6 separate regions of the Homo sapiens genome follow, and all the other regions are linked to region 1. The links are contacts of gene promoters, found by promoter capture Hi-C in blood cells and fetal thymus (Javierre and others, 2016). All regions are on one chromosome and are shown on one strand. Each heading gives the region's core, a stretch centred on a gene start or on the middle of the fragment in contact. The rest is flanking DNA. Distances are from core to core; before and after follow the strand shown.

What was found. Contacts are between HindIII fragments. The CHiCAGO score rates a contact against its expected background, and 5 or more counts as called.
Region 2: a fragment that was not itself captured here is called in contact with the fragment with the promoter of OR9K2 in region 1 in 9 of 17 cell types (naive CD8 T cells, activated CD4 T cells, total CD4 T cells and 6 more); the score reaches 10.9 in naive CD8 T cells.
Region 3: a contact is called between a fragment that was not itself captured here and the fragment with the promoter of OR9K2 in region 1, in 5 of 17 cell types (activated CD4 T cells, total CD4 T cells, naive B cells and 2 more). The highest score is 12.4, in activated CD4 T cells.
Region 4: a fragment that was not itself captured here is called in contact with the fragment with the promoter of OR9K2 in region 1 in 11 of 17 cell types (naive B cells, erythroblasts, activated CD4 T cells and 8 more); the score reaches 9.2 in naive B cells.
Region 5: a fragment that was not itself captured here is called in contact with the fragment with the promoter of OR9K2 in region 1 in 4 of 17 cell types (naive B cells, total CD4 T cells, non-activated CD4 T cells and 1 more); the score reaches 6.1 in naive B cells.
Region 6: a contact is called between a fragment that was not itself captured here and the fragment with the promoter of OR9K2 in region 1, in 3 of 17 cell types (total CD4 T cells, activated CD4 T cells and non-activated CD4 T cells). The highest score is 6.1, in total CD4 T cells.

Annotation. Positions count from the first base shown.
Region 1 is chr12:55,124,664-55,128,815 of GRCh38, reverse strand. OR9K2 (olfactory receptor family 9 subfamily K member 2) reads right to left here and starts at 2,410. Exons shown (of 3, transcript NM_001005243.2): 1 at 2,300-2,410; 2 at 1,905-1,988. The HindIII fragment of the contact is 7,142 bases long and covers 1-3,809 here.
Region 2 is chr12:54,714,173-54,718,324 of GRCh38, reverse strand. No RefSeq gene overlaps it. Among named protein-coding and RNA genes, the nearest start is that of DCD, 68 kb to the right of the region's middle. The HindIII fragment of the contact is 3,088 bases long and covers 877-3,964 here.
Region 3 is chr12:54,738,561-54,742,712 of GRCh38, reverse strand. No RefSeq gene overlaps it. Among named protein-coding and RNA genes, the nearest start is that of DCD, 92 kb to the right of the region's middle. The HindIII fragment of the contact is 7,865 bases long and covers 1-4,152 here.
Region 4 is chr12:54,756,686-54,760,837 of GRCh38, reverse strand. No RefSeq gene overlaps it. Among named protein-coding and RNA genes, the nearest start is that of MUCL1, 96 kb to the left of the region's middle. The HindIII fragment of the contact is 338 bases long and covers 1,551-1,888 here.
Region 5 is chr12:54,775,623-54,779,774 of GRCh38, reverse strand. No RefSeq gene overlaps it. Among named protein-coding and RNA genes, the nearest start is that of MUCL1, 77 kb to the left of the region's middle. The HindIII fragment of the contact is 157 bases long and covers 1,685-1,841 here.
Region 6 is chr12:54,830,362-54,834,513 of GRCh38, reverse strand. It overlaps a transcript of MUCL1 not described here. Among named protein-coding and RNA genes, the nearest start is that of MUCL1, 22 kb to the left of the region's middle. The HindIII fragment of the contact is 668 bases long and covers 2,009-2,676 here.

The DNA of each region.
Region 1 (4,152 bases), core at 1,161-3,660:
TGCTGATTACACTTTTATTTGCCCTGAATACAACTTTTGTAGCCATTATTAACTCATTACTGCTCAAATAGATTTTTTAACTTCGTATGTTAACAATACAAGCCACTCTTTCTCTGTCCTAAGGGCTTTATGTGCATGATTCTGTCTAGGCAACAATAATAACAAATATGTATATGGCACTTTTTATGTGCCAGACACTTTTCTAAATGCTTTCATAGTAGCTCATTTAATCCATTCAATAATAACATTAGGTGGTTATTATTATATTCCCAAGTTTACAGATGAGTAAATTGAGGTACAGAGAAATGAAGTCTGCTGAAATTCACTTACTTGAGTCAGAATCAAGATTTGAAGCCAGGAAAACTGGCTCCAGAATCCATGCTTTTAATCATCATTAATGATTAATCACTGTACTATATCAACTTTAAATAAAGGACCCTTCCTGTTCCCCTACCTTACTTCTGCTTGTACTTTAGAGTGTAGTTAAAATTTCATATTTCCAAATAAAATCTCTAATTCTTCAACCTGGGTCAAAACATCTCATCCAAAGATAATTTGAAGAGACCAACTGCCACCATATTTTAATATTGAGGTTACATATTAATTATTCTTCACTTGACAATAACTTAAGACAAAATTCAATTTGTTCTCCATATATTGTCAGCATAACGTTATGTGTCTGGTAAATGGCAGTTAATACATATTTACTATAGATAAAAGTTGAATGATAATGATCATGCAGAAACAGAGAAAAATATAAAAACTATCCATCCAATACTGCAGTGGTTAGTATGGGTTTTAGGTTTAAATAAATCTAGGCTCCAGTTCTGCTTCTCTCACTTTCTAAATGGGATCTTGGACAAGTTACTTATGCTCTCTCTCTATGCTACTGTATTCTCATATATAAAGTGGAAATAAGAGTCCTCAAAGTTTTCTTGGGAATAGAAAATGACATACGTATGTAAATCACTTAGCACCATTTATGGTAAACTAAGTATTCAGTAAATGTTAGCCATTATTTTTATTATACGTTTCAGTGCTCAGTCCCACTATTCATACCAAATAGTGCTTATTAGGTTGAAAACCAATAATATATATGGTCGTTTTTGGACAAAACATTCTCAGTTGAGGGGAAGAATCAATCTGTTAAAAGTTTAGAGAGATGAAGAACTCTTGGAGAAATGGAATATTTTGCCTGAGAAAAAAGATTATTAAGAGAAAAGCTGAATAAGATGTTATCATTATTTAAGACTGTATTAAATGTTGAAAATAAAATATTCACCCATTTTATCAAAAATTAAATATGTAAGTAATTAAGAAGTAGTAAGAGCTTACATTAGATTGCACTTAGGGTCTGGAAAGATGTGAGACATTTAAGAAGTGAAAGAAAGCTGACTGAAGTCAGCATGAAAAATCATTTTTTGAAAAATAATATATATAATTTATCTTCATTTTATTCTCATCTAGAAGCAAAACAGATTATTTTAATTTCTAAGATTTATTTCTATCAAACTCATTTCAACATTAGAATTTAATATTATTATTAATAGTAATTATTCCTCACTTGACAATAATATCCTTAACATCAAACTCAGCTTGTTTGCTGCGTATTGTCAACATAATGTTCTGAATCTAGTGAATGACAATAATTCAATACATATTATTACGTAGAAAAAAGCTGAATGATAATGAGTATGTGGAATCAGAGAATATAAAAAAACAAACTTATTAAAATAAATTTATATCATAAATGTTATAAACATTGTAACATTATAAATGTTAATAAATGCATTGCTGATGACATTTTTTACCTGGAAAAGGGAGTTATTCCCGCAGAAGCCAACAACAAGTAGTCAGTTTGTGACTTATTTTTCAAAAACTTACAGGTTTTAAGTTACTTTTACCTTGTATTGTTTAGTAACTGGTCAGATTCTGGTAAAAATCAATCAGCAGAGTTCCAATGTTTTCCTCTGTTTATTGTTTTAATTCTAGAAAGGATAAACATAAAGTTAATTAATGACTGTCATAATTATAAATACTGAAAAATAATTACTTTGAAATAAAATGAATCATTCCCCACAAATCCACATTTATTATTACAGTTTTAGATTCTTCCCATAGATAAATGTGGCTTATGTGCCTCATTGCTCTATTTTAAAAAGTCTTTTTTTCAGTAGTTGATTTCCTGAAAAGTTTTATAGTCCTTTTTAGAAGAGAGTCAAGGTGAATTTTTCAAATCATGTTCTGCCAAAACTGAAGTGATTCCAGGAACAAAAATCTATAGATAAGCAAAGTGAACCTGAGGAATCAATCCACAAGATATTATCTATCCTGAATTCTCAGAAACTTGTATGCTTTCAAGGCAAGAGGATAGATTGCCATGGATATGCAAGTAGAGGTCCTGAGCTCTTTGGCATCTCTGAATACTGCCAAAATATCAACAGCAGTTATCCACGAGGGCTTCGGTTTTGCTACAGCTTTTTCATATAATTACAGTATTGAGATTTCCTCTATGTTCTGGGAGACAGTACCTCTGGGAGAGAAGAACACAAGTCAATTAATTAGTAAGACTTCTAGGATCTAAAAGCAAGATCCATGAAGACCTCAGAGATTCTATATTTTTTTAAAAAGCCTAAGAGTACTTAAAGTACATATGAGACATTCTTTAGGAAAAATCACAAGGATCTTTTAATTTTAATTTCTTCACTGAAAAAGCAGCATTTTCAATTTATCATTATAGCACAGTTTTTGATAAGCAAGTAGAAATAGATACGAAAGGAAATGTTGTGGTTCATAATGCCATTTGTAGGAAAATTTTGAGTCCTAATCATAAAGTTAATTTCATATTTACTTTCAGAATTCTATTCACCCAAATCTCTCCTTGATGACTTTTTAAACTATATTTTCTCAATAGTAATTGAGAAGAAAGATAGAACAGCACGACCATGATATGGGCAAAAATCCAACAAACGCCCTCTAATCCATCAAGTAAAGGCCACATGATTAACTGGATCTAAAGTTGGGTTTATATTGTAATTTTAATTGCTTTAAAGTTGTTTATTCAGGTGTCATGTATTAAGTTAGTAACTTCTCATCAGTCCCTGTATATAGTTCAAAATAATTTAAAGAACTGTTGGTTCCTTCCGGTGAGTGTTAAAGTTCTTAAAGGTGGTGTGTCCGGAGTTTGTTCCTTCAGATATTTAGATGTGTCCAGAGTTTCTTCCTTCTGGTGGGTTTGTGGTCTCACTGACTTCAAAAGTGAGTTACAGCTCTTAAAATCTCTTAAAGGTGGCATGTCTGGAGTTGTTCGTTCCTCCCGGTGGGTTTGTGGTCTCGCTGACTTGGAACCAACCCAAATGTCCAACAATGATAGACTGGATTAAGAAAATGTGGCACATATACACCATGGGATACTATGCAGTCATAAAAAAGGATGAGTTCATGTCCTTTGTTGGGACACGGATGAAGCTGGAAACCATCAGTCTCAGCAAACTATGGCAAGGACAGAAAACCAAACACCGCACGTTCTCACTCATAGGTGGGAATTGAACAACTACAACACTTGGACACAGGGTGGGGAACATCAGACACCGGGGCCTGTCCTGAGGTGGCGGGGGGGGACAGATAGCATTAGGAGATATACCTAATGTAAATGATGAGTTAATGGGTGTAGCACACCAACATGGCACATGTATACATATGTAACACACCTGCACGTTGCGCACATGTACCCTAGAACTTAAAGTCTAATAATAATTAAAAAACAAAAACAAAAAAAGAAAAGAAAAAAAACAAAAAGGAGTGAAGCTTCAGACCTTTGCAATGAGTGTTACAGCTCATAAAGGTGGCACCTCCAGAGCTGTTCTTTCTTCGGGTGGGTTTGTAGTCTGGCTTGCTTCAGGAGTGAAGCTGCAGACCTTGGTGGTGAATTTTACAGCTCATAAGGGCAGCAGGGCCCCAAAGAGTGAGCAGCAGCAAGATTTGTTGCTAAGCTGAAAAACAAAGCTTCCACAGGGTGGAAGGGGAATCTAGTGGGTTGCTTTTATCCCCTTATTTGTCCTCACCCACGTCCTGCTGATTGGTCCATTTTACAGAGCACCGATTGGTCCATTTTTCAGAGTGCTGATTGGTCCGTTTTTACAGAGTGCTGAT
Region 2 (4,152 bases), core at 1,171-3,670, 410 kb after region 1:
AATACAACTTGTTTGTTATGTCTTTTTAGAGTCAAATTGAATATAAAACATTATTCAAATCCATATCTTCACCATATTGCCTCCACTTCCAGTGGGTTCTCTTAAGTTTGGTTGTTTTTTGTTGTTTGTTTTTTTGATCATTAAAAATGCTGCAATGGGCTGGGTGTGGTGGCTCATGCCTATAATCCCAGCACTTTGGGAGGCCAAGGCTGGTGGATTGCTTGAGAACAGAAGTTCAAGACCAGCCTGGCCAACATGATGAAACCCCATCTCTATTAAAAATACAAAAATTAGCCGGGCGAGGTGGCGCACACCTGTAATCCCAGCTACTCATGAGGCGGAGGCAGGAGAATCACTTGAACTCAGGAGGCAGAGGTTGAAGTGAGCCAAGATCACACCACTGCACTCCAGCCTGGGTGACAGTGTGAGGCTCCATCTCAAAAAAAAAAAAAAAAAAAGCTGCTCTGGTTTTTTTACCTAATTATATAAATCTAAGGTAAAATGTGTATTCATTAGAATTTGATCCAAAAATACATTTTTATTTCACATAAGTACAGGCAACCTACAACTATTCTGGGGAGCTCCATTGTCAACAATCCAGCTTTCTTCTATCTTATACCACCATCTTCATCATGTGGACTCCACATTACCTCCTGGTTGACAATATCCCTTCCACTTCCAGCAAACTCATTCTGGCCAGCAGGAAAGATTTTTTGTTGTTGTTTTAAAGGATTCTCCCATTCTTCCCTCTAATGACACCTCTCAGCGGATGCACCAAGCACAGTCATTTGTACACTCTTGGCCAAAACTTAGTCTTGTGTCCATAGGACTAGCAATGACAGCTGAAAAATAATCTTTAGGTCCAGCAGCCAAGCTTCCATCTAACATTTGAGGATTCTTACTAAGGAAGAAGGGACGAATGAATATTTGGAACTCTTATTGCAGTCTCCAATACAGTCAGTCCCTTTGGTCACCCAACCACCTGTGCACAACCTTCCTCTCCATAAAGGACCTGTTCATACCCTCCTCAAAAGACACAACAGCAAAGCCCCAACCAGGCACAGCTTCCAGATCAAAGTCCAGGACCTCTGGGAGATAACTCTCAGTCAAGTCTAGATATGGATCTTTGTGATCTGGTGACCTCATCTGCCTCAAAAACACCAAAGATGCAATGGAGGAGCAAGAAGCAGATTAACTGCATGCAATTAAATCTACGATTTGGTAATGGGGAGCAGAGAAAATACACAGCAGTCACTAGTCCATTATAATTAATAAATTCCATTGTTCTTTGGTAGTAGAGTGCTTATTTTGACCATCTGACATCCTGGATTCTGGTCTTGGAGAGTAATTCCCTTGTCCACTGTCCTGTCTAATCTGTTCTCTCTTGTCCATTATCTTCCATGAACAAATTGAAATAGACATTTTATATGGTTTGACTCTGTATCCTCACCCAAATTTCATGTTGAAATGTAATCCCCAGTGCTGGAGAGGGGGGCTGGCGGGGGGTGATTTGGATCATGAGGGCAGTTTCTAATGGTTCAGCACCGGCCCCCAGTGCTGTTCTCATGATAGAGTTCTCATAAGATCTGGTCATTTAAAAGTGTGTGGCACCTCCCCTCGCCTTCTGCTCCAGCCACGTGCAGATTGTACGTTTCCTGAGACCTCCCCAGAAGCCAAGACAATGCCAGCATCATGCTTCCTGCACAGCTTACAGAACCATGAGCCAATTAAACCTCTTTTCTTTAAAAATTACCCAGTCTCAGATATTTCTTTATAGCCGTGTGAGAACTGACTAATACAACATTGGAAAGTATTACCTACTTGGGTGTTGCACAACTTCCCACTCTCTGTTTTGGAGGCCTGGGCTTTAGGGGTGGAACAGTCACAGGCTTTTACAGCCAGGCTTGTGATTCCTCTGTCAGTATAATTCCTTCAAAACCTTAGTAGAGTTATGATCTGTTTGCCTGTGGTTAGTTCCAGACATCCCACATGCAAATATTCCACAACCAAATGCATCTGCACATCGTTTTTAAATCTGAAGACTCTGGTCTGTGCTTACTGGCTTCTCTCCTCTATCCATGCCTCTTAAGCCATAAAGTTAATGGCAGCAGTCTAGAAGCCCTCAGAAAGAAAAAAAAAAAAAAACCCTTGTTTTAGCATAAAAACAAGATTCTTAATCTGATCTTTGCTGTTGCACTGAGCTCTCATTGTCTGGCAGAAAACTCTTAATAAAAGGTACTGAAAAAGGTTTAGGACCACAGTTTTATCTCCTGCTTAGGCTGTCTTTTCACAGCCACAGCATATAACTGCTTCCCTTTGAGGTATGCTCCTGATTTTCTTTACCAAACTGCAAGGCTCCAATTCCAGACCTTCAGTCAATTTAAATTAGAGGCCTCAGGCACGGAGCACCTGCAAGAGAGCTATACCTCCAACAGTCTGTATCTCTGTTAACAGACTGGTGAGCTCTAGCCTGAATTTATCTCTTTTCTAGAACTTGGATGAAAGCAGTAAGAAGCAGCCAACCAACCCCAATACTCTGCCTTTTTGCCATCCTTTTCACTGACACCACACCAGGTGGCAGACAGTTAAGTTTTCCAACTGTTGCAGTTTCTTTTATCCAAATGTGTTGCCCCTGCATAACGAGAGTCACCAGACTTTCAGCCTCCAAAATCTGAGTCTTTGCTGCCTACTAGATATTGTTATAGAACCAAACTAGGTTCCATTTGCCCAGTGCAGTTAAGTCCAGATATCCACAAAAAGGTTATTGCAGCAGTAGAAAGGGAGCCATTTATTTGCAAGACACCAAGCAAGGAGAATCAGAACAGCTCATGCTGCTTAAAACCCAAACTCCCTGATGGCACACAGGTAAGGGTTTTTAAAGGCAAGAGTTGTGTCTCTGCCAGGTTTTGGTATCAGGATGATGCTGGCCTCATAAAATGAGTTAGAGAGGAGTCCTGCTTTTTCTATTGTTTGGAATAGTTTCAGAAGGAGTGGTACCAGCTCCTCTTTGTACCTCTTGTAGAATTCGGCTGTGAATCCATCTACTCCCAGGTTGGTTTGTTTCTTTGTTTTTTGTTTGTTTGTTTTGAGACAGAGGCTCGCTGTGTCACCCAGGCTGAAGTGCAGTGGTGCAATCTCGGCTCACTGCAACTTCCACTTCCCGGGTTCAAGCGATTCTCCTGCCTTAGCCTCCTGAGTAGCTGGGATTGCAGGTGCCCACCACCACGTCCAGATAATTTTTGTATTTTTAGTAGAAACAGGGCTTCACCATGTTGGTCAGGCTGGTCGCGAACTCCTGACCTCATAATCCCCCCACCTCAACCTCCCAGAGTGCTGGGATTACAGGCATGAGCCACCGCGCCCAGCCAGTAGGCTATTAATTACTCCCTCAATTTCAGAACTTGTTATTTGTCTATTTAGGGATTCAACTTCTTCTTGGTTTAGTCTTGGGAGGGTGTTTATGTCCAAGTATTTATCCATTTCTTCTAGATTCTCTAGTTTATTTGCATAGAGGTGTTTACAGTATTCTCTGATGGTAGTTTGTATTTCTGTGGGATCAGTACTGATATCCCCTTTATCATTATTTATTGAACTAAAGAGCTTCTGCACAGCAAAAGAAACTATCATCACAGTGAACAGGCAACCTACAGGATGGGAGAAAATTTTTGCAATCTATCCATCTGACAAAGGGCTAATATCCAGAATCTACAAAGAACTTAAACAAATTTACAAGAAAAAAACAAACAATCCCATCAAAAAGTGGGTCAAGGATATGAACAGACACTTCTCAAGAAGATATTTATGCAGCCAACAAACATATGAAAAAAAGCTCATCATCACTGATCATCAGAGAAATGCAAATCAAAACCACAATGAGATAGCATCTCATGCCAGTTAAAATGGAGTTCATTAAAAAGTTAGGAAACAACAGATGCTGGTGAGGCTGTGGAGAAATAGGAAAGCTTTTACATTTTAGGTGGAAGTATAAATTAATTCAACCATTGTGGAATACACTGTGGCCATTCCTCAAGAATCTAGAACCAGAAATGCCATCTGACCTAGCAACCCCATTACTGAGAATATACCCAGAGGATTATAAATCATTCTACTGTAAAGACACATGCACACATATGTTTATTGCAGCACTGTTCA
Region 3 (4,152 bases), core at 949-3,448, 390 kb after region 1:
AAGACAAAGAAAAAAGAATAAGAAAACATAAACAAAGCCTCCAAGAAGTCTGGAATTATGTTAAATGACTGAACCTAAGAATAATTGGCATCGCTGAGGAAGAAGAGAAATCTAAAGTTTGGAAAACATACTTGGAGTAATAATCAAGGAAAACTTCCCCAGCCTTGCCAGAGGCCTAGACATCCAAATACAAGAAGTACAAAGAACACCTAGGACATTCATCACAAAAAGATCTTCACCTAGGCACATTGTCGTCAGGTTATCCAAAGTTAAGACAAAGGAAAGAATCTTAAGGGCTGTGAGACAAAAGCACCAGGTAACCTATAAAGGAAAACCTATCAGATCAACAGCAGATTCCTCAGCAGAAACCCTACATGCTAGAAGGGATTGGGGCCCTGTTTTCAGCCTCTTCAAACAAAACAATTATCAGCCAAGAATTTTTTATCCAGTAAAACTAAACATTATATGTAAAGGAAGATACAGTCTTTTCCAGAAAAACAAATGCTGAGCGAATTCGCCACTACCAAGCCACCACTACAAGAACTGCTAAAAGGAGCTCTAAATCTTGAGACAAATCCTGGAAATACACCAAAACAGAGCATCTTTAAAGTATACATCTCACAGGACCTATAAAACAAAAACACAAGTTAAAAAGCAAAAAAAAAAAACCAAGGTACACAGTCAAGAAATAGCAAGATGAATGGAATGGTACCTCACATCTCAATACTAACATTGAATGTAAATGGCCTAAATGCCCCACTTAAAAGATACAGAACTGCAGAATGAATAAGAATTCACCAACCAACTATCTGCTGCCTTGAAGAGACTCATCTAACACACAAGGATTCATATAAACTTAAAGGGGTGGAAAAGGGCATTTCATGTGAATGGACACCAAAAGCAAGCAGGAGTAGCTATTATTATGTCAGACAAAACAAACTTTAAAGCAAGAGCAGTTAAAAAAAACAAAGGGGACATTATGTAATGGTAAAAGGTCTTGTCCAACAGGAAAATATCACAATCCTAAACATATAAGCACCTAACATTGCAGCTCATAAATTTATAAAACAATTACTAATAGACCTAAGAAATGAAAAAGACAGCAACACAATAATAGTGGGGGACTTCATCAATACTCCACTGACAGCACTGGACAGGTCATCAAGACAGAAAGTCAACAAAGAAATAATGGATTTAAACTATACCTTGAAACAAATAAACTTAATAGATATATACAGAACATTCCATCCAACAACTGCAGAATACACATTCTATTCAACAGTGCATGTAACTTTCTCCAAGATAGACCATAAGATAGGCCACGAAATGAGCCTCAATAAATTTAAGAAAATTTAAATTATATCGAGCACTTTCTTAGACCACAGTGAAATAAAACTGGAAATCACCTCCCAAAGGAACCTTTGAAACTATGCAAATACATGGAAACTAAATAACCTGCTCCTGAATGATCATCAGGTCAAAAACAAAATCAAGATGTAAATTTAAAAATTATTCGAACTGAATGACAATAGTGACATAACCTATCAATCCTCTGCAATACAACAAAGACAGTGCTAAGAAGAAAGTACATAGCCCTAAATACCTACATTAAAAAGACTGAAAAAGTGCAAAATGACACTCTGAGGTTATACCTCAAGGAACAAGAGAAACAAGAACAAACCAAACCCAAACCCAGCAGAAGAAAGGAAATAACCAAGATAAGAGCAAAACTAAATGAAATTGAAACCAAAAAAATACAAAAGATAAATAAAACAAAAAGCTGGTTCTTTGAAAAGACAAATAAAATTGATAGACCAATAGCAAGATTAATAAAGAAAAGAAGAGAGAAATCCAAATAGCATCAATAAGAAACAAAACAGCAGATGTTACAACTGACACCACAGAAATACAAAAGGTTATTTAAGGCTACTATGAACACCTTTATGCACATAAACTAGAAAACCTAGAAGATATGGATAAATTTCTGAAAAAATACAACCCTCCTAGCTTAAATCAGGAAGAATTAGATACCCTGGACAGACCAAGAATAAGCAGCAAGATTGAAATGGTAATTTAAAATCACCAACAGAGAAAAGTCCAGGACCAGACAGATTCATAACAGAATTCTACCAGATATTCAAAGACCAATTGGTACCAATTCTTTTGACACTATTCCACAAGTTAGAAAAAGAGGGAACCTGCCTTAATTCATTCTATGAAGCTAGCATCAACCTAATACCAAAACCAGGAAATGACATAACCAAAAAAGAAAACTACAGACCGATATCCTTGATGAACATAAATGTTAAAATCCTTAACAAAATATTAGCTAATAGAATCCAACAACATATCAAAAAGATAATCCGCCATGATCAAGTGGCTTCATACCAGGGATGCAGGGATGATTTAACATATGCAAGTCAATAAATGTGATATACCACATAAGTAGAATTAAAAACAAAAATCACATGATCATCTCAATAGATGCAGAAAAGGCATTTGACAAAATCCAGCATCCCTTTTAATTAAAACTCTGAGCAAAATCAGCATACAAGGGGCATACCTCAATGTAATAAAAGCCATCTATGACAAACCCACAGCCAACATAATAGTGAATGGGAAAAGTTGAAAGCATTCCCTCTGAGAACTGGAACAAGACAAGGATGCCCACTCTCACTATTCCTCTTCACCATAGTACTGTAAGTCCTAGCCAGAGCAATCAGACAACAGAAAGAAATAAAGGGCATCCAATTAGTAAAGAGGAATTCAAACTGTCACTGTTCGCTGATGATATGATTGTTTACCTCGAAAACCCTAAAGACTCCTCCAGAAGGCTCCAAGAACTGATACAATAATTCAGCAAAATTTCTGGATACAAGATTAATGTACACTAATCAGTAGCTCTTCTATACACCAACAACGACCAAGCAGAGAATCAAATCAAGAACTCAACCCCTTTTACAATAGCTGCAAAAAAAATTAAAACAAATACTTAGTAATATACCTAACCGAGGAGTTGAAAGACCTCTACGAGGAAAACTACAAAACACTGCCGAAAGAAATCATAGATGACACAAACAAATGGAAACACAAACCATGCTCATGGATGGGTAGAATCAGTATTGTGAAAATGACCATACTACCAAAAGCAATCTACAAATTCAATGCAATCCCCATCAAAATGCCACCATCATTCTTCACAGAATTAGAAAAAAAAATTCTAAAATTCATATGAAACCAAAAAAGAGCCCACATAGCCAAAGCAAGACTAAGCAAAAAGAACAAATCTGGAGGCATCACACTGCCTGATTGCAAATTATATTATAAGGCCATAGTCACAAAAACAGCATGGTATTGGTATAAAAATAGGCACATAGAAAAATGGAACAGAATAGAGAATTCAGAAATAAACCCAAATACAGCTAACTGATCTTCAACAAAGCAAACAAAAACATAACGTGGGGAAAGGACACCCTTTTCAACAAATGGTGATGGGAAAATTGGCTAGCCACATGTAAGAGAATGAAACTGGATCCTCATCTCTCTCCTTATACAATAATCACCTCAAGATGGATTAAGGACTTAAATCTAAGACCCAAAACTATAAAAATTCTAGAAGATAACCTTGGTAAAACCCTTCTAGACATTGGCTTAGGCAAGGATTTCATGACCAAGAACCCAAAAGCAAATGCAATAAAAACAAAGATAAATAGCTGGGACTTAATTAAACCAAAGAGATTTTGCATGGCAAAAGGAACAGTCAGCAGAGTAAACAGACAACCCACAGAGTGGGAGAAAATCTTTACAATCTATACATCTGACAAAGGACTAATAACCAGAATCTACAATGAACTCAAACAAATCAGAAAGAAAAAAACAAACAATCCCATCAAAAAGTGGGCTAACGACATGAATAGACAGTTCTCAAAAAAAGATATACAAGTGGCCAACAAACATATTAAAAAAAGCTCAACATCACTAATGATCAGGGAAATGCAAATCAAAACCACAATGTGATACCACCTTACTCCTGCAAGACTGGCCATAATCAAAAAATCAAAAAACAGTAGATGTTGGAGTGGATGAGGTGATCAGGGAACACTTCTACACTGCTGGTGGGAATGTAAAATAGCACAACCACTATGGAAAACA
Region 4 (4,152 bases), core at 470-2,969, 370 kb after region 1:
ATCAAGATTATCACCAGGGGCCAGGTACAGTGGTTCATACCTGTAATCCCAGAATTTTTGGAGGCTGAGGTGGGCAGATTGCTTGAGTCCAGGAGTGCGAGACAAACCTGGACAATGTGGCAAAACCCTGCTTCCACAAAAACACAAAAAATTAGCCAGGTGTGGTGGTGCACACCTGTAGTCCCAGCTACTTGGGGGGATGAGGTGGGAGGATCACTTGAGCCCAGGAAGTTAAGGCTGCAGTGAGCCATATTGGAGCCACTCCACTCCACTCCACTCCCGCCTGGGTGACAAAGCAAGACCCGGTCCCCGCCTCCAAAAAAAAAAAAAATATATATATATATATAGTAACCAGCAAAATCCTAAAACTCAAATCTGAGGCTGGGGCAATCCCTACAGCCACAGAGAAGTGAGAAACTCCGAGCTTCGGGTAAGAGAAACAAACCTGTCTATCTTTGATACCGATCCTCAATCTGCCAGGCACCATTTGTGGAAAATTCCCCCAGACTCATGGTTTCTAGATCGGAAAAAGTGAGATTGAGGTAGATAGCCAGCTTCTCCACCATCGTGGATTCCCTTGTAGGAAAAGCATTCCTGCCTCAACTCATGGGAAATACCTGTAGGAAGGAAAACCCCAAGGGCAGCTGGAGATAAAGAGGGAAAGTGGGACTAGAAACCCCAGCCTGTGAAACCCTGGTCTTTAAGGCAAAGGAGATGCCAAATCAGAGTGTCTGTTCAGCAGTACGACATTGTATGAGGCACATTCTACCAGTCTTTTGAGCACAAATCCCTAGCCAGATTTCCCTCATGGGTATGGTAACTTCTTTGGGACTTCCTCTCTCTCCTCAGTCAGGGATGGGCAACACTCTGAGCAGTTGCAAGAAGCCCAAGCCAAATCTGGGCTTAAGGCACCATCTAGTGTTGAAAAGGAGGCAACAATGTAGGATAAGGAGACCAACAGGCAGCTAAATATTACCCCATAGCAAACATACCCTAGGAAGACCAAAACAAGCCAGACAGCAAAAACTGTAAATAATCCTCCAATGCAAAGCCATAGATGTATATCCATAAGAAACAACAGCAAACAGGGAACTCTGACCTCCACAAATGAGCAAAGCAATGAGCCAAAGACTGATCCTAATGAGGCAGTGATATATAAGCTCTGTTAAAGAATCCAAAGTAGCAGTTCAAAGGAAACTCAGTGAACTCCAAGATAACACAGAAAAGCAATTCAGAAATTTACTAGAGATATTTAACAAAGATATTCAAATAATTTAAAAATTTAAACAGAAATCCTGGAACTGAGAAATATGTTTGCTAAACTGAAAAATACATTATAGGCTCTCAACAGCACAATGGATCAACAGTGGGAAAACTCAGTTAGTTCAAAGACAGGCTATCGGAAAATACACAGTCAAAGGAGAAGAAAGAAAAAAGAATGGAAAGAAATGAAGAACACTTGCAAAATATAGAGAATACCTTTAAGAGAGCAAATCTAAGTGTCATTGCCATTAAAGACGAAATTGGGAAAGAGAAAGTGTTAGAAAGCTTATTTAAACAAATAATAACAGAAAAGTTTCCAAACCTAGAGAAAGGTATAATCTAGCTACAGGAAGGCTAGAGATCACCAAATGACTTCAATCCAAATAATACCACCCGAAGGCATATAAGACTTTGAGAGTTTACCCTCAAAGGTCAAGGACAAAGAAACGATCATAAAAACAGCAAGAGAAAAGAGGCAAATAACATATAAAAGGGCTCTGATTCATCTGGCAATAGACTTCTCAGGAGAAAACATAAAGGCCAAAAGGAAGTAGAATGACATATTCAATGTGCTAATGGGAAAAAAAAAAACTTTCAACCAAGAATACTGTACCCAGAAAAAGCTTTCCCTCAAACATGAAGGGGAGATAAAGTCTTTCCCAAACAAACAAAAGCTGACAGAAGGAATTCATCACCACTAGACCCATCTTACAAGAAATGCTAAAAGTACTTCAGTCTGAAAGAAAATGATGCTATCATACAAAAGCAAAACATTTGAAGATATGAAACTCACTGGTTGAGTGCAGTGGTTCACACCTGTAATACCAGCACTTGGGAGGCCAAGGGGGGAGGATCACCTGAGGTCAGGAGTTCAAGACAAGCCTGGCCAACATGGCGAAACACCATCTCTACTAAAAATACAAAAATTATCTGGGTGTGGTGGTGGGTGCCTATAATCCCAGCTACTTGGGAAGCTGAGGCAGGAGAATCACTTGAACCCAGGAGGCAGATGTTGCAGTGAGCCGAGATCATACCACTGCACTCCAGCCTGGGTGACAGAGTGAGACTCCGTCTCAAAAAAAAGAAAAAGGAAAGAAAGAAAGAAACTCACTGGTAAAAGAAAGTACACAGACAAACAGACAAATTAACAATATTCTAATATTGTCATTGTGTAATCTACTCAAAAATCTAGAATGAAGACCAAAAGAAAAATCTATAAAAAATAGCTACTGCAGCCTTTTAAGAGATAGGCAATATGAAAAGATGTAAATTGAAAAAACAAGAAGTCAGAATGGGGGGTGGAATTAAAGTATAGAGTTTTTTAGTTTTTCCTTCCTTTCTGTTCTGTGATAAAAGTTAAGTTGTCATCTGTTTAAAATAACTTATTATATTTATAAGATAATTTTGTAAGCCTCATGGCAACCGCAAAGCAAAAACCTATATTAAATACACCAAAAATAAAGCTCAGTGTATTAAAATGTATTACCAGAAAACTTTACCTAACCACAAAGGAAGACACTCAGAAAGAAAGGAAGAGAGGAGTTAAAAAAACAACCAGAAAACAAGTAACAAAATGACAGTAAGTCCTTACCTATCAATTATTATACTGAATGTTAATGGACTAAATACTCCAATTAAAATACATGAATGGGCTGGGCATAGTGGCTCACACCTGTAATTCCAGCACTTTGGGAGGGCGAGACGGGGGATCAGAAACCCTGCCTCTACTAAAAATACAAAAATTAGCCAGTGGCGGTCACCTCTAGTCCCAGCTACTCGGGAGGCTGAGGCAGGAGAATCACTTCAACCAAGGAGGCAGAGGTTGCAGTGAGCCACCACTGCACTCCAGCATGGGCAACAGAGTGAGACTCCATCGCAAAATCAATTAATTAATTAATTAATTAATTTTAAAAATAAGATACATGAATGAATCGATTTAAAAACAGGGTTCAGGCTGGGCATGGTGGCTCATGCCTATAATCCTAGCACTTTGGGAGGCCGAGGCAGGCAGATCACAAGGTCAAGAGATTGAGACCATCCTGGCCAACATAGTGAAACCTCATCTCTACTAAAAATACAAAAATTAGCCGGGCAAGGGGTCGCACGCCTGTAGTCCCAGCTACTCGGGAGGCTGAGGCAGGAGAATCACTTGAACCCGGGAGGTGGAGGTTGCCGTGAGCCGAGATTGTGCCACTGCACTCCAGCCTGGCGACAGAGCAAGACTCTGTCTCAAAATACAAAAAAAAAAAAAAAAAAAAAAAAAAACAGGGTTCAAATATATGCTGCCTAAAGAAACTCACCTTACCTATAAAGACACACATAGTCTGAAATGAAGAGATACAAAAAAAATTCCATACAAATGGACACCAAAATCTTCAAGTCAAAGATTATCAAAAGAGAAAAGAATGTCACTATGTGATAATAAAAGGGCCAATTCAGCAAGTCTATAACAATTGTAAATATATATGCACTCAACACCAGAGCACCCAAATATGTAAAGCAAACATTAATAAATATGAAGTCAGAGATAGACTTCAATACAGTAATGTTAGGGGACTTTAAACCCTTCTCTCAGTAAAGAACAAATTATCCAGACAGAAATCAATTTTTTAAAATCCAGGTTAAACTTCACACTAGACCCAATGGACCTAACTAATATTTACAGAACATTTCATCCAAGTGATATGGAATATGCATTGTTATCATCAGCACATGGAACATTTTCTAGGATAGATCATATTTTAAGTCACAAAACAAGTCTCAACAGATTCAAAAAAGCCAAAATTATATCGAATATCTTTTCTGACCACAATAGAATACAACTAGAAATTATTAACAAGAGGATCTGAAGAAATTATACAAACACATGGAAATTAAACATGTTCCTGA
Region 5 (4,152 bases), core at 514-3,013, 350 kb after region 1:
TTCTCTTGTAGGCATTTAGTGCTATAAATTTCCCTCTACACACTGCTTTGAATGCGTCCCAGAGATTCTGGTATGTGGTGTCTTTGTTCTCGTTGGTTTCAAAGAACATCTTTATTTCTGCCTTCATTTCGTTATGTACCCAGTAGTCATTCAGGAGCAGGTTGTTCAGTTTTCACGTAGTTGAGCGGTTTTGAGTGAGTTTCTTAATCCTAAGTTCTAGTTTGATTGCACTGTGGTCTGAGAGACAGTTTGTGATAATTTCTGTTCTTTTACTTTTGCTGAGGAGTGCTTTACTTCCAACTATGTGGTCAGTTTTGGAATAAGTGTGGTGTGGTGCTGAGAAGAATGTATATTGTGTTGATTTGGGTTGGAGAGTTCTGTAGATGTCCAGTAGGTCTGCTTGGTGCAGAGGTGAGTTCAATTCCTGGACATCCTTGTTAACTTTCTGTCTCGTTGATCTGTCTAATGTTGACAGTGGGGTGTTAAAGTCTCCCATTATTATTGTGTGGGAGTCTAAGTCTCTTTGTAAGTCTTTAAGGACTTGCTTTGTGAATCTGGGTGCTCCTGTATTGGGTGCATATATATTTAGGATAGTTAGCTCTTCTTGTTGCATTGATCCCTTTACCATTATGTAATGGCCTTCTTTGTCTCTTTTGATCTTTGCTGGTTTAAAGTCTATTTTTTCAGAGACTAGGATTGCAACCCCTGCCTTTTTTTGTTTTCCATTTGCTTGGTAGATCTTCCTCCATCCCTTTATTTTGAGCCTCTGTGTGTCTCTGCACATGAGATGGGTCTCCTGAATACAGCACACTGATGGGTCTTGACTCTTTATCCAATTTGCCAGTCTGTGTCTTTTAATTGGAGCATTTAGCCCATTTGCATTTAAGGTTAATATTATGTGTGAATTTGATCCTGTCATTATGATGTTAGCTGGTTATTTTGCTCATTAGTTAATGCAATTTCTTCCTAGTTTCGATGGCCTTTACAATTTGGTAAGTTTTTGCAGTGGCTGGTAACGGTTGTTCCTTTCCATGCTTAGTGCTTCCTTCAGGAGCTCTTGTAAGGCAAGCCTGGTGATGACAAAATCCCTCAGCATTTGCTTGTCTGTAAAGGATTTTATTTCTCCTTCACTTATGAAGCTTAGTTTGGCTGGATATGAAATTCTGGGTTGAAAATTCTTTTCTTTAAGAATGTTGAATTTTGGCCCCCACTCTCTTCTGGCTTGCAGAGTTTCTGCCGAGAGATCCGCTGTTAGTCTGATGGGCTTCCCCTTGTGGGTAACCCAACCTTTCTCTCTGGCTGCTGTTAACATTTTTTCCTTGATTTCAACTTCAGTGAATCTGACAATTATGTGTCTTGGAGTTGCTCTTCTCGAGGAGTATCTTTGTGGTGTTCTCTGTATTTCCTGAATTTGAATGTTGGCCTGCCTTGCTAGGTAGGGGAAGTTCTCCTGCGTAATATCCTGCAGAGTGTTTTCCAACTTGATTTCATTCTCCCTGTCACTTGCAGGTACACCAATCAGGCATAGATTTGGTCTTTTCCCATAGTCCCATATTTCTTGGAGGCTTTGTTCATTTCTTTTTACTCTTCTTTCTCTAAACTTCTCTTCTCACTTCATTTCATTCATTTGATCTCCAATCACTGATACCCTTTCTTCTAGTTGGTTGAATTGGCTACTGAAGCTTGTGCATTCATCACGTAGTTCTTATGCCATGGCTTTCAGCTTCTTTTAAGGACTTCTCTACACTGGTTATTCTAGTTAGCCATTCGTCTAATCTTTTTTCAAGGTTTTTGTCTTCTTTGCAATGGTTTCGATCTTCCTCCTTTAGCTCGGAGAAGCTTGATCATCTGAAGCCTTCTTCTCTCAATTCATCAAAGCCATTCTCCATCCAGCTTTGTTCTGTTGCTGGTGAGGAGCTGCACTCCTTTTGAAGGGGAGGGGCGCTCTGATTTTTAGAATTTTCAGCTTTTCTGCTCTGCTTTTTCCCCATCTTTGTGGTTTTATCTACCTTTGGTCTTTGATGATGGTGATGTACAGATGTGGTTTTGGTGTGGATGTCCTGTTTGTTAGTTTTCCTTCTAACAGTCAGGACCCTTAGCTGCAGGTCTGTTGGAGTTTGCTGGAGGTCCACTCCAGACCCTGTTTGCCTGTTTATCAGCAGTGGAGGCTGCAGAACAGTGAATATTGCTGAACAGCAAATGTTGCTGCCTGATCGTTCCTCTGGAATCTTCATCTCAGAGGGGTACCCGGCCGTGTGAGGTGTCAGCCTGCCCCTACTGGGGGGTGCCTCCCAGTTAGGCTACTTGGGGGTCAAGGACCCACTTGTGGAGGCAGTCTGTCCATTCTCAGTTCTCAGATTCCATGCTGGGAGAACCACTACTCTCTTCAAAGCTTTCAGACAGGGACATTTAAGCCTGCAGAGGTTTCTGCTGCCTTTTGTTGGGCTATGCCCTGCCCCCAGAGGTGGAGTCTACAGAGGCAGGCAGGCCTCCTTGAGCTGTGGTGGGCTCCACCCAGTTAGAGCTACCCAGCCACTTTGTTTTCCTACTCAAGCCTCAGCAATAAAGAGCACCCCTCCCCCAGCCTTGCTGCAGACTTGCAGTTCGATCTCAGACTGCTCTGTGAACAATGAGTGAGGTTCTGTGGGCATGGGACCCTCTGATCCAGGTGCAGGATATAATCTCCTGGTATGCCCTTTGCTAAGACCACTGGAAAAGTGCAGTATTAGGGTGGGAGTGACCCAATTTTCCAGGTGCGGTCTGTCACAGCTTCCCTTGGCTAGGAAAGGGAATTCCCTGACCCCTTGTGCTTCCTGGGTGAGGCAATGCCTCAGCCTGCTTCAGCTCATGGTCGGTGGGCTGCACCCACTGTTCTGCACCCATTGTCCAACAAGCTCCAGTGAGATGAACCCAGTACCTCAGCTGGAAATGCAGAAATCACCCATCTTCTGCATCACTCACACTGGGAGCTGTAGACTGGAGCTGTTCCTATTTAGCCATCTTGGAACTGCCCCAGGCTCTTTTTCATAAAGGCATCAGTAGAATTTTCATGTCCCTGATAGATACCAGACAGCTGGTTTAATTGATAGACATAACAGTCTCCTCAAACAATCCTTTTTCAAATTTCTTCCCATAAAATGGACCGTGGAATGTGTCTCTATATTGCCCCAGGCCTTAATCTCCCTTAAATCAAGGACGTTTCAGTGACTCACGTCTCACACCAATTTTTTAAAAACTTTCCCATTGCCCTTTCCTACATTTAAAGGGGGGATATATCTCCCCTTCACATATATAAATATTCATTACACGTGAGACTCCTAAATATATCTTCCTCATACTTATAAATGTTTAATCTTGCCTCTATCCCATAAATGCTGGAGGCCAATTCAAAGGTGTGTAGTCTTCCCAGGACCTATTTGAGTCTAAATTCTCACCACCTCTACCACAAAAAAAAAAAAAGAAAGAAAAAGAAAAAACACTGTCAAGTGCAGCTGTACACCATTTTGTTAACTGTGGGTATCACTACTATTGGTCTGGGTGCTTTCATTGGTCTGCAATCCAGACCTTCCAAGTAATTGCTCAATCAATTATGGGAAATGCTGAGGCCCACATGCCATCAAGTTTAGTTAATACAAGCCCTCCAACCCAAACCTTGTAAGCTTGCTCATCACCAACCAAACCAACAATTGAGGCAAAGAGCCCACAGTCATTTAACAAATTAGAGGTCTGCCCATAGGATAATGCTGGAGCTCCAATCTCAGCCATAGATATTTTAATTGGCAAACAGCCTGACATCCTATTAATAACTTATACCTAAACCGAGCCATATGATTTAAAACTCATTTGCAACAGAACCCTTCTTATCACCCATCTGGGCAAAACCTCTAATTGTTGGAAATTGTGAGATTCAGCCACTCTTAATTGGGGTTTTAACTGTCCCAATTAAGTTCTAGAATTTCAGCTTTGCTAGGTGTGCACCCACAAGGCCCTACATGTAAGAAATATTTACAAGTCAAACTTCCAGTTCCAATGTTGTCTTCAAATTATGCAAACAGCTCAGACTTGTTATTATACCATAAAAGACACAAACACAATACCCACATCAACCTGAGCAGGTCTCTACTTGGAATGTATTCCCCATTCCCACATTCC
Region 6 (4,152 bases), core at 1,093-3,592, 290 kb after region 1:
ACCTTAAATATACAAAACTTTAAAGATAAATTTTAAAAATAAAATACAATAAAATTGCACCAGTGAAAGAGTATGGCTTGTGATGAGGATTTACAATTAGACGATGAAAAGAAGAGAGAGACCAGAAGGTAATTCACAAATATACAGTGACTGATTGAATTTTAAAATAAAGTGAAGAAAAGGTAGTTTAAAAATGCTGATAGGTAAATTCAAGATTCATATAAAAGGCAAAAAATACTCAACTTCACTCAATACACTAAAATAAATTCCAAATAGTTTATTATGTAGAGAATATATCTAAATAATAAGTGTAACAGTAAACCTTCTAAAAGAGAATATAGAAAAATAAGTTCATGAAGTTCACGCAAATATGTCTTATATAGAACAAAATCAAAGCACTAACCCTGAAGAGATAGGTTAATGAATTAAACTACAATGAATATAAAAGCTCTTACATCCAAATCACTATTCAAGCCACGCATTCAGAGGGTATAGTTATAATGCATGTAATTAACAAACGACTGTTAAGTAGACTTTTTTTTATTATACTTTAAGTTTTAGGGTACATGTGCACAATGTGCGGGTTTGTTACATATGTATACATGTGCCATGTTGGTGTGCTGCACCCATTAACTCATCATTTAGCATTAGGTATATTTCCTAATGCTATCCCTCCCCCCTCCCCCAACCCCACAACAGTCCCCAGAGTGTGATGTTCCCCTTCCTGTGTTCATGTGTTCTCATTGTTCAATTCCCCTCTATGAGTGAGAACATGCGGTGTTTGGTTTTTTGTCCTTGCAATAGTTTGCTGAGAATGATGGTTTCCAGCTTCATCCATGTCCCTATAAAGGACATGAACTCATCATTTTTTATGGCTGCATAGTATTCCATGGTGTATAAATTCCTTAGAAAAAGATAATCCAATATAACCATTGGGGAAAAGTTTTGAATAAGACTTCAGAAAAGGGGATATCTTTATGACCAATAAATTTATGAAAATGTGCTCTAATTTGTTTGACATAAGGAAAAAAATTAAAACAATTAGATAGCACTAGGCATCATCAGATGGGTTGAAATTTTATGAACTGAAAATACCAAGTATTGGAAAGGTGTATATAACTGTAAAGATATGTGGATCTCATCTATACAAAAAACTAGAAAATATTATTGAAACTAAATAAAAGGAAAAATAAACTGAGAAATAAAACATTTGCATAGATTAGAAAATTCCAGTTCTCCTCATATAATTCTATATATTCGATGCAAAACTCAACAAAATTTCAAAAGGTTGGATGTGTGTGTGTAGGTAAATATGAATGCATGCACAACAGAATATGCTTTATTAAAACATACATAAAAAGCCAAGGAAAAAGGACCTAGAATGGACAGGACAGCTCTAAGGAAAGTCAAATGAGCAACTCTTACTCTTCTAGATATCAAAAATTAATATAAAGTTACAGTAACGAATAGTGCTGTACTGGTACAGGAATTTAAAAAGAAAAACATAATATAAATCCAGGTTAAAGATCTGATGATAATTCATTTAATAAGGAAGCTTGGTTATTTTGTGACATACAAAGTTTAAAATAATAACTCAAATTATAGCTGATCACTTTATACCAGGACATACAAAATTTCTAGAAATTTTATATGATTTCTTGAAAATAGCATTTTACCTATACAAATGTAACCTAGGGAAGGTTAAGCATCACTTCTTATTTGACACATTTCCATTCAGCTTAACATATCAAATAATATAAATTATTTTTACCAGATTCCTTTGCAAAATGAAAGAAAAATTCTCTTGGGTATTTTCCAGGGGCCGTCTGTGATGTCTCAGTCAGTTTTAGGTCAAAAAGACCTCATAAAGCATCCGATTGTTAGAGATTGTCAAAAATGTCAAAAGGTTTAAATAGACGAGTAAGTAGGATCACAGGCCACCATGAAACAACAGTTATCCGTTTAACCAAAGTGACAATAAAAGATTTTAAAGGCAAATACAGAAGCTTACATAGTTGTAAACAAAACCCTTAGCTCTTTTAATATTGTGAAGACTCTTAAGTAATCAAAGACATGATAAAGACAACATAAAACAGAGGAAATTATTCAGAAAAGACACAAAACATTGGTTTCCCAGGCAGATTATGCAAAAGTTAAAGAAAAGCCTTTCACAATCTCTTATTAAGAGCAAACCAATAATCCCCCCACCCAAAATTTGTCTTTTTAACAGAAAGAAAGCCATATTCTAGCTTTGCATTAGTGTACTTTTGATGTTAAGGCTCATATTTTTAAATGTGTAAACAAAGGAATTCAAATCTTAGCCAGCTTGACTACACATAAATTTCATTTTCCACAAGCCTTCTGCAACTTCCTATATCCTTTAGTTTTTGCTCTATATTTTTCTTATTCCTCATTCTGGAACAACTAGTCATCTAACTTTAGGATAAAATTACTCTCTTTTTCCCTTAACAAAAACACATCCTTCATACTCGTATATTTCCTATCAAAGATATATCCTATTTTCCCTGAAAACTTTTGATGAAGAATTGTTTTCCTAATTATTTTCACATATTAATTGTAATGTTTAACCATTAGTAAGGTTTCTTTTATAGAGAAAATTAGGAGGTAGATAATTGTGAAATGTCTTTGTTACATGGCAGCATTCTGTAGCAAGCTTGCAAAAGTGATGAATATACCATTTCACAATTTTAGAGGCATATGCTTCCTCATAGTATAATTTTTCAATGTGACAAAAATTAACAGACTCAAATATATTTAGTCTCTTTATACTGTATAAAAGCAAGATGCCAAAAATATATAAACTTAAACTTATGCTCAGTAATTGTTTCAGTATTTTATCTTATTTGGAAATAATCTAGATATTCAATGAATATGCATCATTTAACTTAGTATAACTTAAGGTTTCAAGTTACCAAAAAGAAACTATTTTTCAGGTAGACTTATTGTAACATTAAGCAAAGTTAGTCATCATCTCAAGTTATTTCCCCCTTAACTATTTTAACCTTATATGACTATTAAACCCAAGTAGAATATAAATGTATGTTTCTATTATACTTAATGCTGATTACCCAGAACACAGCTGTTTTTACTAAACTAACAATATTAAACTAATCTTATTTACCAAAAACTTACCCAAGTCACATGAACTTGAAAGACATTTGAGTTTCTAAATTTCTGTGAGTTTTAGGAATATTTAATTTATATAAGCACTCATTTATCTCTAAGTCAATTTGCATAGAATTCCTCTAAGAAATTGCATAAATTAATTTGATAATACCATTTGGGAGTAGAAAAATATCACATAAACATAACATACATGCATATACACATACAGAAATATACAGACTGTAGAGATCTTAGTGCTTTCATTTTCAAAGTTTAGCCATAAGTTAGTAATACAAAACTCTCTGGTTTATATAAAATAATTGCCTCTCACCTTTCTTCTACTTTATATTTTTATCCAAATCACGTTTCTGGCAAATAGGACAAATTAAGGATATCTGTTCACCAACATTTGTAGCAGACATTTTTAAGACTTTCTTTGTCATCTTAGGGAAGTTGTGGGCTAAAATTTTGGTGAATTATTATGAAGCTGTTTGTGTGTATCCAACACTCACCTGAGTGTACAAAACATCCAGTCTGTTTCCAAAGTTTTTTTTCTGTTTTCAGCCTCTAATCATTGCTTTTGGGGATCCCTCAGGGATCCCTCAGTCTCTTAAGGAGAGCCCCCAATGGAGGCCAAGGGGTCTATAGTTCAAGTGACTGTTGGGAGCTGAGAGGTTGAAGTGGGAAATGAAAAGCCTGGCAGAATGAACAGAGGGATGAAGGTGGTAGAGTTAAAAGGGGGATATATCAAAGGCTTCAAGGTCGCTGAAGGGAAGATCAAAAGTGGTTAAAGAACAAAGGAGGAATGGGAAGGGAGAGGCCTTACAGAAGCCAGTTTGGGGAGATCATAAGTTTCCCAAAGAGGACAATGAAGTTCCAAATTATTCTCTGCAAATTTATGCCAACAGGAAGGAGGTGGACAGATTGGTAGAGCATATAGTCAGTAGGAGTTCAAGAAGGGAGTTTCAGCCAACTGAGAATTTTCCATGAGAGAAACAGGATAAAATAGAGAGAATGGAGAGGCCT